Linked DNA regions of Homo sapiens: region 2 is linked to region 1. Evidence: promoter capture Hi-C in 16 types of primary human blood cells and fetal thymus (Javierre and others, 2016). All regions are on one chromosome and are shown on one strand. Each heading gives the region's core, a stretch centred on a gene start or on the middle of the fragment in contact. The rest is flanking DNA. Distances are from core to core; before and after follow the strand shown.

The links. Contacts are between HindIII fragments. The CHiCAGO score rates a contact against its expected background, and 5 or more counts as called.
Region 2: a contact is called between a fragment that was not itself captured here and the fragment with the promoter of TNFSF10 in region 1, in 2 of 17 cell types (total B cells and naive B cells). The highest score is 5.2, in total B cells.

The regions. Positions count from the first base shown.
Region 1 is chr3:172,519,695-172,527,133 of GRCh38, forward strand. It overlaps TNFSF10 (TNF superfamily member 10), which reads right to left and starts at 3,736. Exons shown (of 5, transcript NM_003810.4): 1 at 3,559-3,736. The coding sequence starts at 3,690. It also overlaps the pseudogene TBPL1P1. RefSeq lists an enhancer at 3,668-3,717. The HindIII fragment of the contact is 8,260 bases long and covers 3,241-7,439 here.
Region 2 is chr3:172,736,901-172,744,339 of GRCh38, forward strand. No RefSeq gene overlaps it. Among named protein-coding and RNA genes, the nearest start is that of ECT2, 10 kb to the right of the region's middle. The HindIII fragment of the contact is 561 bases long and covers 3,526-4,086 here.

The DNA of each region.
Region 1 (7,439 bases), core at 2,486-4,985:
GAGTCTGCCTCATCCATTTCCAAAAGAAAAATTTCCGACTGATTGGGATAACCAAACTTACATTCCACAGGATATGCAAACTACATTTCCCTAGCAAATAGTTACTACTCTATGTCTTTTGCACAATTTATACTTTTCTGAGATCCTTAGCCTTTCATTTCCTAGTCAGCTGGCAGAGTTGGTGCTGCAGGATGCGCTGTGCATGCACAGTGTACATCACAAGGTGTAGATAGGTTAACCCTGTGGACATCCCACTGTGGAGGGAAGAGCCTACAGACCTGGGTGCTAGCCGCCCCACGGCCAGCCTCCAAAGCCTTGTCTGAACTTGAGTACATTATTTCTTGTCTCCTCGTCTGTAAAAAGTGGTTGTGGTGGTGGGGGGAGGATCTGACGTTCCTTGCAGCTCATAATTCTCTACTATTTAATATACAATGAATTAAAATATATATTAGAAGTCAAAAACTGAGTTGGTTTATTTTCAGCAATTTTGCAGTCATAGTTCCAGGGGTTTTCATCGAGAAAATCATAAATTAAAATAGCACTGTTTGTTTGTTTTGTCTGTCAAAGATACCTCAATTTGTACATGGACCATCCACAGGCAGAGATTGGCAGTTTGCTTTTCAATTGTTTTATCATGAACAGCTGTGTCTATCTGATAACTTCTTTATTACAGATTTTACCCATGACATGCCCGTGCCCCAGGAATAGGCAGAATGCCAGTCCTTTGTATTCTCACTTATTGTCAACACAGGAATGCCACATAACTAAAAGCAAAACATTTCAAAGATGTGAAAGTTCACCAGGACTAGCTACATCTGGAATACAAAACGGGAGTGTTCAGTGACTTAGGGCCTGGCTTTGGGTTGAGCCTGACTCTACCCTTGTCGCCTGCATATTCGTGGTGCCTACCACATCTGTGAAGGCTGTTCATTCACTCAATAAGTATGTAGTGAACCACAAGTATTAGTATTAGTGGCTACTTGGGAACCACATGCTAGACCCAGAGGTATACTAATGAGCAGAAGCAGACACAGCTCTGATACAGCTACCCTCACCCTCAAGAATTCATGAGTCAAGAACTGTAACTCCAACCTGCAACAACAAAGCAGGGAAGATGGCTACAGTTACCAAAACAGCATGTTACTGGTATGGAAACAGATACATAGACCAATGGAACAGAACAGAGGCCTCAGAAATAACACTACACATCTACAACCACCTGATCTTTGACAAACCTGACAAAAACAAGCAATGGGGAAAGGATTCCCTATTTAATAAATGGTGCTGGGAAAACTGGCTAGCCATATGCAGAAAACAGAAACTGGGCCCCTTCCTTACAGCTTCTACAAAAATTAACTCAAGATGGATTAAAGACTTAAACGTAAAACCTAAAAGCATAAAAACCCCAGAAGAAAACCTAGGCATACCATTCAAGATGGCATGGGCAAAGACTTCATGACTAAAACACCAAAAGCAATTGCAACAAAAGTCAAAATTGACAAATGGGATCTAATTAAACTAAAGAGCTTCTGCACAGCAGAAGAAACTATCATCAGAGTGAACAGGGAACCTACAGAATGGGAGAAAATTTTTGCAATCTACCCATCTGACAAAGGTCTAATATGCAGAATCTACAAGGAATTTGTTTCTTGTAAAACAAATTGACAAGAAAAAAACCACATCAAAAAGTGGGCAAAAGATATGAACAGATACTTCTCAAAAGAAGACATTTATGTGGCCAACAAACATGAAAAAAAGCTCATCATCACTGGTCATTAGAGAAATGCAAATCAAAACCATAATGAGATACCATCTCACTCCAGTTAGAATGGTGGTCATTAAAAAGTCAGGAAACAACAGATGCTGGAAGGATGTGGAGAAATAGGAATGCTTTTACACTGTTGGTGGGAGTATAAATTAGTTCAACCAGTGTGGAAGACAGTGTGGCAATTCCTCAAGGAACCAGAAATACCATTTGACTCAGCAATCCCATTACTGGGTATATACCCAAAGGATTATAAATCATTCTACTATAAAGACACATGCACACATATGTTTATTCCAGCACCATTTACAATAGCAAAGACTTGGAACCAACCCAAATGCTCATCAGTGATAGACTGGATAAAGAAAATGTGGCACATATACACCATGGAATACTATGCAGCCATTAAAAAGAATGAATTCATGTCCTTTGCAGAGACATGGATGAAGCTGGAAGCCATCATTCTCAGCAAACTAACACAGGAACAGAAAACCAAACACTGCATGTTCTCACTCATAAGTGGGAGTTGAACAGTGAGAGCACATGGACACAGGGAGGGCAACACACACACTGGGGCCTGTCGGGGGTGGGAGGCTAGGGGAGGGAGAGCATTAGAACAAATCCTAATGCCTGTGGGGCTTACAACCTAGATGATGGGTTGATGGGTGCAGCAAACCACCATGGCACATGTATACCTATGTAACAAACCTGCACGTTCTGTACACGTATCCCAGAACTTAAAGTAAAATAAAAAAATTTAAAAATAAAGAAATCTGTTTGCCAGAATTCACAAAGAGCAATAGACCTCATGTGAGTTATGAATCTGAACTTCATCCTGCTGTGTGCTATTGGATAAAGACTCTAAGAGCTACATTACAGATTTTTTCGACAGGAAGTATCACAGTAACAAGGCCCTATTTAAAGGCTGTTGCTACTGCTGTGGAACAGATTTACCCATTTGTGTTTGAAAGCAGGAAAGAAATTTTATCATTCACCACTTAATTGGTTAGAATCTCTTACTGTGCACCTTTTAAAACCTGCTGCACATTGGACTCAAAAGGAAAACTGAACCAACGGTAATTGAGGAAATAGACTCTTTTATTTATTCATGGCTACAGTGTAAGCTCCAGTCCCTTTGGATTTTATTCCAAACCTTGTTATAATATAAAAAAGGAAGTTTACAAGACATGTCATTGCTGCTTTTACAAAAGGACATTCTATTTATTTTCGCAGGAATTCTCATGTCCCCATAAGCAGAGCTGTCACAGTGTGCACTACCTTAGGTTGTTTTATTGTTGTCATTGTTATTTTTTTCCATTTTGAGCTAATGTGTTTTATCTGTGAATAGTCTTTTACATTTTTGTATGCTGAAAATGGGCACCAAAGAACCTGTAAAAATTATCTTTTTCAATTGAATGTGCACAAATAAAAGTTTGGAAAAGGAAAACAAAAGAACTACAAAGCATTTAGCAGAAAGCTTTCATGAAGAGTTGCAATGGCTGATATTATAAAATACACATACTTTTAAAAACAAAAAATCCCTCAGGAGTTTTGTTGCCCACATCTGCTAGTAACTAGTGAAGCCAGTTGTGTAACTGCACTTAGTTTACACAATTTCTTGAACTTACAGTTTTGCAAAGACCTCAGTTGTTATGTGATTTAGCAGTTAGAGTGTACCCACAGAGAAAGGAAGCAGGAAAGTCTTCAGAGAGGGGCAAGCTGACATGCAAAGAAGCAGGTAACCAGACATTTGCTAAGCGCCTCGAAGACTGAGTGCACTGCACTGCACTGACCTGCTTCAGCTCGTTGGTAAAGTACACGTAAGTTACAGCCACACAGAGAGACTGCAGGAGCACTGTGAAGATCACGATCAGCACGCAGGTCTGTCCCAGGCTGGGTCCCCCCTGGACCTCCATCATAGCCATGATCCTGTCAGAGTCTGACTGCTGTAAGTCAGCCAGGCAGCCGGTCACTGAAGCCCTTCCTTCTCTATTCTTTTATAGTCAGTGAGGAAATGAAAGCGAATGAGTTGTTTTTCTGGGTTCTGTGGCCTTGGCCCCACCCACATCTATTGAACCTGCAACTGTCCCTCCCCTTTCCTACTGCCCAGGGACAGCTCTTGTCTCAAAGTAGTCGTTGGAAAGGAGGGAAACTGAAAGAAGCTCCTCTCCTTGCCCTCAGGATCCATGCACCCCTTATCTGCACTCACCTCAAGCCCATTTCTCTCTTCTCTTTCTTGCTCTCCTTTTGATAATGTCCTCAGCCAAAGAGGGGAGGGATTTTCTTTGCTTTTCCCTAACATATCCTCATTCTACCACAGAGCTCTAAGCCTCATGGCCTGGCTGTCATAGGCACAAGGCCTGTTTTCTAAATTATAAGATAATTTTTATGACCTGAAACTTCCATATGTGGTTTTTCTCATGCTACTGTGAGGGTGGGAAGAGGGCAGGGTGGGAGTGGATAAAGGAAAATAGAAATACTGTCTCATAGCAATGGTCTTGCTACATAATTCCATCTTGAATGTCAGAATCTAAATATTGACGACTTCTTCCTCTTTGCAAACCTTCAGACACAAATTCTAATCTCCTTCTCAGATCTCCATCCCTACCAAGACAACATGCCTGTGTGTTAGGCTGGACAGGTAGGAAGTAGTTGACACACTCAGAAAGGCAAAGGAAAAAAACATGTGGATGTTTTCCAAAATATTAACCCCATCACAATGTCTCGCTGTCACTATCCTTTTACAGATTAGGAAAAGAAGTTACAGGGAGTTAATTACCCTCAGATTCAGGACCCAGCCCCAAATCTCCCCACTATCAGATGTCATAAGCTGGCCCAGCTGTATGTTGTCTCTATATCTTATTCAGCATTTCTTTCTTTCCTTTTCTTCCTTTCTTTCTTTCTTTCTTTTCTTTTCTATTCTTTCCTTCTTTCCTTCTTTCTTTCTTTCTTTCTTTCTTTCTTTCTTTCTTTCTTTCTTTCTTTCTTTCTCTCTTTCATGTATTTATTTATTTTTTTGACAGAATCTCACTTTATCGCCCAGGCTGGAGTGCAGTGGTGCAATGGCACAATCTCGGCCCACTACAACCTCCACCTCCCAGATTCAAGCAATTCTCCTGCCTCAGCCTCCCAAGTAGCTGGGATTACAGGTGCATGCCACCATGCCCAGCTAATTTTTTTGTATTTTTAGTAGAGATGGGGTTTTACCATGTAGGCCAGGCTGGTCTCGAACTCCTGACCTCAAGTGATCCTCTTGCTTCAACCTCCCAACGTGCTGGGATTACAGGCATGAACCACTGCATGGGGCCATTGTTTAGTTATTCCATTCTTGACCCACTGAGTCAGAGTTTCTGGCAGTGGACTTAGGAACCTACATTTTTCAGCAAGTACTCCAAGAGATCCTTTGAAACCTAAAGTTTGGGACCCTAGATCTACAGTTACATTCCTGAGTTCATTCAGGCACCGCTGGTCACCATCACTTCCTGCCCTTGCCTTCTATCTGTAAATGAGTCTATATTTAAGAAAATATTTTCAAATTTTAAATTTGCCTCTGTCAAATTGCCAAATTTTTAAATGCAAATTCCTTTCAGACACAGACAAATTGGCAAGGTAGCATTTTTCCTACTAAAAGTTTTAGACATTATGTGAACCTAACACTATTTGAACACACTTACACTCTAAGTCCTAGACTGAATGAGTTTTTTAAATCAGGTGAAAGATGAGTAGGATAACCGTAATGCACAAGACACACAGCCGGGCAGGGCAGAAACAAGAAACGAGAGATGGCAGAGAAACACAGGGGAGAAGACCAAAGAAAACCAACTTAACACCTTTGTTATAATCCAGAAATAGAAACATTACGGCTATGATGTACGTGAAAGGCATGAAACGAAGGAATGGGAAACGTGCAGGAAGTCAACATCTCTATCTTATAAGCACGTAAGAAAGTCTAGAGTGTGGAAATAAGGAGGCTTATCTCGGGGTCAGGTCAAGAGATGGGGTGATTTGAGGAGTTACAAGAGTCGGCTGGGCGCGGTGGCTCACGCCTGTAATCTCAGCACTTTAGGAGGCCGAGGCGGGCGGATCATGAGGTCAAGAGATCGAGACCATCCTGGCTAACACGGTGAAACTCCATCTCTACTAAAAATACAAAAAATTATTAGGGCATGGTGGTGGGTGCCTGTAGTCCCAGCTACTTGGGAGGCTGAGGCAGGAGAATGGTGTGAACCCGGGAGGCAGAGCTTGCAGTGACCAGAGATCGTGCCACTGAACTCCAGCCTGGGTGACAGAGCAAGACTCCAGCTCAAAAAAAAAAAAAAAAAAAGTCAAGAGGTCTGGCTACCTCTATCTTTGAGCCTCCTAACGTATTAAATATGAAGATATTATATATACATATTTGATATAGAGAAATCTTAATCTTTTTGTTATAACAATGTTTAAATAATATAGAGCTAAAGCCATTATTATTATTATTACTAGCATGGATCTGCTGACTGGCATCCATACATTAACCATAACCTTTAATCAGCAATTCAGTTTCTTTAAACTGGAGTGAGAATTTGTTATTTTATTTTATTTATTTATTTTGAGACAGAGTCTCACTCTGTTACCCAGGCTGGAGTGCAGTGGTACAATCTCAGCTCACTGCAACCTCCACCTCCTGGGTTCAAGTGGTCCTCCTGCCTTAGCCTCCCGAGTAGCTGGGACTACAGGTGCCCGCCACCACACCTGGCTAATTTTTTTTTTTTTGTATTTTTAGTAGAGTCAGGGTTTCACCATGTTGGCCAGGCTGGTCTCAAACTCCTGACCTCAGGTGATCCACCTGCCTTGGCCTCCCAAAATGCTGGGATTACAGGCGTGAGCCACCATACCCGGCTGAGAACCTTTTAAAAATACTTTTTTTTTTTTTTGAGACAGAGTCTCACTTTGTTGCCCAGGCTGGAGTGCAGTGGTGGGATCTCGGCTTACTGCAACTTCCGCCTCCCAGGTTCAAGAGATTCTCGTGTCTCAGCCTCCTGAGTAGCTGGGATTACAGCTGTGCACCACCATGCCTGGCTAATGTTTTGTAGTTTTAGTAGAGACGGGGTTTCACCATGTTGGTCAGGCTGGTCTTGAACTCCTGACCTCAAGTGATCCACCCTCCTCAGCCTCCCAAAGTGCTGAGATTACAGGCTTGATTACACACTGCACCCGGCCTGTTTTATAATTTTTAAGTAATTTTTAATGAAGTCCTTACAAAGCATTAAATTCAGCATTCCAAGAAACAACTCATATTTTATTGGCTTCCATGATATTTATATGAACTATGTAATTACAACTGGCATAATCAGTTCTGAGAATAATTTAATTCTTGTTAGATATATAGATGGAAACAGAAGAATAGCCTAAGTTCTTCATTCCCTGTGTGGAACATACTGACTGAAGGTTAGAGAACTTCCAGTGTATCTTGTTTCCTTTTTTTTTTTTTTTTTTTGAGACGGAATCTCACTCTGTCCCCCAGGCTGGAGTGCAGTGGCGCCGTATCCGCTCACTGCAACCTCCACCTCCTGGGTTCAAGCGATTCTCCTGCCTCAGCCTCCTGAGTAGCTGGGATTACAGGTGCATGCCACCACACCCAGATAATTTTTTGTATTTTTACTAGAGATGGGCTTTTACCTTGTTAGCCAGGATGGCC
Region 2 (7,439 bases), core at 2,556-5,055, 220 kb after region 1:
GGCCAACATAGTGAAACTCCGTCTTTACTAAAAACACAAACATTAGCTGGGCATGGTGGCGGGTACATGTAATCCCAGCTACTTGGGAGGCTGAGGCAGGAGAATCACTTGAGCCTGGGAAGCGGAGGTTGTAGTGAGCTGAGATCACATCACTGCACTCCAGCCTGGGCAACATAGGGAGATTCTCGGAAAAAAACAAAAAACAAACAAACAAAAAAACACACAGAGATTGTTGCCCCTGTAGTCCCAGCAACTCAGGAGGCTGAGGCAGGAGGATTGTTCGAGCCCCAGAGTTCATGGCTACAGTGAGCTATAAGTACACCATAACACTTTAGCCTGGGCAACAGAGGGAGACCTAGTCTCTTAAAAAAAGTTCTGTAGAATCTGTGGTGACAACCCCACTTTTCAGCTAATATTATTCATTTCTGTTCCTTCTTTTTCCTTGACAAATTTTTTTTTTTTTTTTTTTTTTTTTTTTAAGAATCATGGTCTCTCTTTTGTCACTCAGGATGGAGTGCAGTGGCATGAACATGGCTCACTGCAGCTTCGACCTCCTGGATTCGAGCAATTCTCCCACCTCAGCCTCCCAATGACCTAGGACTACGGGTGTGAGTCACTGTGCGGGAGCTCCTTGACCAATTTAACTTGAGGATTATAAGTTTTGTTGATCTTTTCAAAGACTAACTTTTGGTTTTCTTAATTTTCTCATTGTTTGTCTCTTTTCTGTCCCATTGGTTTCTTCCCTTTTCTTGCTGTTATTCATTTTAGGTTTTCTTTGCTATTGTTTTCGTATCTCCTTAAGGTGGAACCTTAGGTTATTCATTCTAGATTTGTTTCTTTTTAAATTTTCATATAACCATTTGAAGCTAAAAAATGTTCCTCTAAGTACTGCTTTAGCTGTACCCCTCAATTTTAATGTTTTATTTTTTATTATTCACCTAGATATGTTTTCTAGTGATTTCTTCTTTTACCCATGGCTTTTATAAATGGGTTGTTCAATTTCTCAATATTTGGAGGTTTCTTAGGTATCTATTATTCATTTCTAATTTAGTTTCAATGTGGTTAGACAACAGACTCTGTATGATTTCAGTTTTTAAAATTTGAGACATCTTTCATGGTCCAGAGTATGGTTTACCCTTAAGACACATACTATATGTCCCTGAAAAAAATACATATTCTGCAATTGCTAGGTGGGTGGTTAATAGGTTGTTCAGGTTATCTTTCTCATTACTGATTTTATTTAGCTTTTCTATCAGGTAATGAAAAACAGTTCTGCCAGGTGTGGTGGCTCACTCCTGTAATCCCAGCACTTTGGGAGGCTGAGGTGGGTAGATCATGAGGTCAGGAGTTCGAGACCAGCCTGGCCAACATGGTGAAACCCTGTCTCTACTAAAAATACAAAAATTAGCCAGGTTTGATGGTGCATGCCTCTAATCCCAGCTACTCGGGAGGCTGAGGGAGGAGAATCGCTTGAACCTGGGAGGCAGAAGTTGCAGTGAGCTGAGCTCACACCATTGCACTCCAGCCTGGGCAACAGAGCAAGACTCCGTCTCAAAAAAAAAAAAAAAAAGGAAAAGAAAAAGAAAAAGAAAAGAAAAAAGGTCTTAAAATCTCCAGGTATGATTGTGAAATTATCTATTTCTCCATTTAATTCTATCAATTTGCCTTTCATGTATTTTGAAGTGGGCATACAATCCAGGTCAAATATCCACCATTTTTTGATGGCCTAGGTTCTATTTTTATTTCAACTGCATTAGCAACTCCATTTTTCAATTCATTTGAACTGTAACAATTTTATTGCTAAGTAAATCATGGTATTCAAATTATTGTCATAGAAAATACTATTCTACAAAGATGGAGTTATTGTCATAATTAACACTTTGGGATACCTCACATGTTTGAAAGTTACTTGATGGTGTGGAAGAGGCCATTTACAGATGTAGACTTATGTATAATTTATGAAAGCATAGGTTGTAAGAAAATGGAATTTTTGATATGGATAATTGCCTATGTTCATAAACAGTGGCAAGTCTTAATTGAATTAGTTGAGTAGCATTAGCATTAACCCTCTTCCATTCATAGCTGGGCTGGCTATGGTACAAAAATCATGTCATTCTTAGATAATATACTCAAACGTCAATTAAAGATGTAAATTTATTAATTTGGAAATATGCCACTTCATCCATCATACCTAGTAAGAAACAACAGGAAAATTTGTCGTAAATAATGGATTAGATAAAAGTAAAAATAATTGAAACTTTATTATCTTTGGAAAAAGCACCACTGATATTATAAGGAGAATAAACTTATTTATATATTAATTCATTCCCTTGTTATTTCAGCAATATCTGAGTGCCTCGTATCTGTCAGGCACTGTGGACAAAATAGTTAACAAAAAGACATTGTCCCTACTTTCATGTGGCTTAGATAGTGAAAGAGACAAACATTAATCTAGTAATTACATCAAGTACCACAAAAGAGATACTCATGGTGCTGGGGGGTGTGAGTGAGGGTTGTGATAAGGTGGGTAGTTAGAAAAGACCTTTCAAGGAGTTGGAAGTGAGCATGCACTAAAAGATGAGTAGTAGTTGCCTACTCTAGGTTAAAGGAATGGGGATTAGAAGGATAGGTAGAGAGAAGAGCAGGTGCAAAAAATGCTTAGAAGGAAGGCAGGTATAGTTAGACCTAAGAGAAAGGAAGTAAACATGGTATAAGATGACGTTGGAGAAGCAGATAGAGGTCAGACCATGCAGGCCTAGTAGGATTGAAGTGTTTTAAGGAGGTGATGACATAATCTGTTTAGACTTGCATAATGTTACTCTGAATGCAGGCTAGAGAATGGATCAGATGAAGGCAGTATTAATTATTGGACATCAGTTACAATGCTATTCTTGGAACAAATTTTGAGACTACTATCTGTCAGGAATGTGCTGTGTTGCTAAGTGCTGGAGATATGGAGATACATTGGTGAATAAGACCAAAAAGGCTCTTACAGAACTGAAAGCATCTTAATTATTTCAAAGGCAAAACATATATGTATTATGAATAAAGATATCGGTACTTTTATATGTACAATATAAAATATAAATATCTATAGCAAGAAGACTAGACTAATGGAAATAAAACTTTTGATCTTGGTTTTGTCAATAACTAGTTACCTGACCTCGGCAAAGGAGTGTAACCTCTATGTTGCTGGCCTTGGTAAAACTCATCTGTTAAATGAAGAATGAGGCTAAGGAGCTGAGATTTTTTTCCCTCCCGTATCTGAAATTTTACTAATTCAATTACATAATTTGAAATAATAGCTTTGTCATATCTGGAAACCTCTTGCTCCTTCATAGAAAGCTAATTCTATTCTTCCAAATGAAACTTTAAGTGCTAAATTTGTAGAGTCTTGCAAGTATGTGTCAAGTGATTTATAGCCTAATGGTTCAGATGAATAAAGCAACAATTCCTATACTAATTTACGGACTATTGAAGTGTGTAGAATAGCTTCTTCTGGCTCACTGTGATTATACTTTCTAAAGCTTATTTTATAGGCACAGATAACAGGTTAGAAGATGCCATATTACAACCAACTTGGAAATATGACATTTTAATTGGAAAATGTTAATAATTCCAAAAAAGGACAGAACTCCATGATCATTCACTAAAACTTTTGAAATAATAATCTTTAATAATAAATTCTTGGGGGGGACTGAATCTTTGTAGTGGTACCTAGTGTGGCATTATGTACAGCTATGTACTTAATGAATGTGTTGCAGGGTAGGAATGGCAATATACAAGGAGAGAAACAATTACATGAGGTCTAGGTGACATTACGATGTTAATATTTAGGTAAAGTAAAACATTTAATCCTATGATGAAAGATTTAAATTTACCATAAAACAGTGTTACTGCTTGATTATATAACATTTCATATTTGGAAGTAAAATCTATAAATTATATTTTGTTGTAACTTTAGGTAATAAAAACAAAGCCCACCACAATAATTGTTGCCTAGATCATCTTGGTAAGAAAATTAATAATTTTTCAAATATACCAGTTCTCATTAGTAGACTAGAACAAACTATAAGGGTGTGAGAAAGCTTTACTCTGATTTGATGAATGATTGTACTGGCAGTGTTCACATTTGTGAACGAGGTTGGTGGGGGGGAGTAGATACACCATAACAAATACTAACTTTCCTAAACTGGCCATTCTCTGCTTCTCTGAGGGAGTATAGATGAAAAAAAGAAAGATGGATATGGAGGGGAGAGGGGAGAGAGGAAAGGAAATATGAATACAGAGGAAAGAGTAAACTGGAAGAGGAACAAGGGTGAGATGGGGATCCCGAAGGATGGTCCAGAGTGTTAGTGAATCCGGTTGGAGATGCAGATGGGGAAGCTGCTCCTCCACAAGAAGTTCCATCCTCCACATCAAAAATTATTGTATTGCATGGGGGAAAATACATCATATTCTTCAATATACTAAGTACTTCAATTCCTTTACTATTTTGTGGCTAAAACATGTTCATTCAGCATCTTAGGTATTGTAGATTACATATTTTTTTATAGTTGAGATATATATATATATGTATATATATATATATATATATTTTTTTTGAGACAGAGTCTCGCTTTGTCACCCAGGCTGGAGTGCAGTGGCGCGATCTCAGCTCACTGCAAGCTCCGCCTCCCAGGTTCACGCCATTCTCCTGCCTCAGCCTCCCGAGTAGCTGGGACTACAGGCGCGTGCCACCATGCCCGACTATTTTTTTTTTTTGTATTTTTAGTAGAGACGGGGTTTCACTGTGTTAGCCATGATGGTCTCGATCTCCTGATCTCGTGACCCGCCCGCCTCGGCCTCCCAAAGTGCTGGGATTACAGGCGTGAGCCACCGCGCCCAGCCTATAGTTGATATATATGTATTTATAATGTGATCACAATGACAAGTTCATTGTATATATCCTATACAAGCTTTAAACAGGTTTTGTCCCGTTGACATATGAATTCAATAATTATAATACTTCCAGCGAAGGGACCTGGAGGAGAGGCTAACATTTAACATAAGGAATCTTGGCTAGGATCTGTGTTGGAAGGGCACAGAAGACTGGCCAAGGGCCACAGCAAGCAGTCCACATCTTCCAGACAGGAGGAGACAGCTTAGGTGCAGCAAGGTTTCCCTGACAAACAAGAGGGTTTAGTAAGAATGTCTGAATCAAAAAAAAAAAAAAAAAAAAGAGGACTATTAGATTTGGTATAGAAGAAGGAACTGTGCCTCCTGGTGAGAAAAGAATTCAATGGTGGGTCAGGTGCGGTGGCTCATGCCTCTTATCCCAGCACTTTGGGAGGCCGAGGCGGGCGGATCACAAGGTCAGCTGTTTGAAATCACCCTTGCCAACATGGTGAAATCCCGTCTCTACTAAAAATACAAAAAAAAAAAAAAAAAAAAAAATTAGCTGGGCGTGGTGGCAGGTGCCTGTAGTCCCAGCTACTCAGGAGGCTGAGGCAGGAGAATCGCTTGAACCTGGGAGGCAGAGGTTGCAGTGAGCCGAGATCTTGCCACTGCATTTCAGCCTGGGTGACAGAGTGAGACTCCATCTCAAAAAAAAAAAAAGAATTTGATGGTGGTCTTTCCTGTGGCAGCCTTGGTGTTGTGGGGGCAGGTGTTGTGGATAGGGTAGGGTGGGGAGAGAGGAACAGCAGCACAGGTGCCATTGCTCCTGCGGTCAGGGGTGGGAAGGCAGCATAGAGAGCCACCATTTCCATCAGGCAATTACAGGTCAGCTGAGATAACATAGTAGTAAGAGTAGCAGCAACCATAATAGTAGCAGAAATAATGGTACTATTAACAGCTAACATCTATTGAATATTTACTATGTGCTAAAATGTTTCAATTATCTATATTAATTCCTTCAATTCTCATAACAATACTTTGAGATAAGTACTATCATATCCTTTTACAGAAGACCAAACTGAGGTATAGGGATGTAAAATAACTTGCTTAAGGTCACATGGCTAGGAAATGGAAAAGCCGGGTCGAAACCCAGGGAGTCGGGTTCCCTATTCTAAAGCTATAGAGCCTCTCAAGCAGACAGGGGAAGCCTATTGTAGAGAAGTGTTCGGGGACCCCAAGGTGTGAAATCTCTGCAAAGTGATGGTGGCCCAAGGAGAAGAGGCCCACTTGGGAATGACAGCGTGTGAGTCAAAGTGTCTGTACCTGGTAGTTGCACTGCAGAAGGGGCTGGCTAAGACAAAAAACCAGGGAAACGAAGAAGTATTGGGGAGCTGTTCAGGCTAAGAGACTAGGAGTGGGAAGCTCTTCAGTTCATGTCTGCACAGAGAGAAGTAAACAGTGTTGGTAGCTACTTTGAGGCAATTTGCATAAGCAATCTTGGAAAACTGACTTGGAAGAAATCAGGTTTCAGCAATTAAGCTATGGGGATTTAAGAGTGAAACATTAGCTCACGTTATTTTAAGCCACATTCCTTGAATATTACCCCCTGTTATACTTTGGATATTTGACACGCCAAACCTCATGTTGAATTGATCTCCAGTGTTAGAGGTGGCACTAATGGGAGGTGTTTGAGTTATGGAGGAGATCTCCCATGAATGGCTTGGTGCTGTTCTGGGAGTAATGAATGAGTTCTAGCTCTGTTAGTTCCTGCAAGAATTGGTTGTTTATAAGAGTCCAAGCCAGGTGTGGTGGCTCATGCCTGTAGTCCCAGCTGCTCAGGACTCTGAGGCAGGTGAGCCCGGAGTTTGAGGTTACAGTGAGCTATGATTAGCATTCCAGTCTGAACAACAGAGTGAGACCTTGTTTCTAAAAATGAGAGTATGGCCTCTGGCACCTCCATCCTCTCACTCTTGCCTCCTCTGTCACCATGTGATGCCTCTGCACAAAACAGCTCCCCTTCCATTTCCACCATGCGTGGAGGCTTCCAAAGGCCTCACCAGAAGCAGAGGCTGGCACTGTGTACAGCCTGCAGAACCATGAGCCATGAGGCCAGGAATGGTGGCTTACGCCTGTAATCCCAGCACCTTGGGAGGCTGAGGTGGGGAGATCACTTGAGGTCAGGAGTTCGAGACCAGCCTGGGCAACATGGTAAAACACTGTCTCTACTAAAAATATAAACATTAGCCAGGAGTGGTGGCATGTGCCTGTAATCTTAGCTACTAGGACGGCTGAGACAGGAGAATCACTTAAACCCGGCAAATGGAGGTTGCAGTGAGTCAAGATCACACCACTGCACTCCAGCCTGGATGACAGAGTGAGACTCCATCTTAAAAAAAAAAATTGTTTTAGAGTGGGATCTCACTCTGTCACCTAGGCTGGAGTGCAGTGGTGCAATCATGGCTCACTGCAGCCTTGAACTCCTGGGCTCAAGTGATCCTCCCACTTCAGCCTCCTGAGTAGCTGAGATTACAGGCACATGCCAGTATGGCCAGCTAGGTATC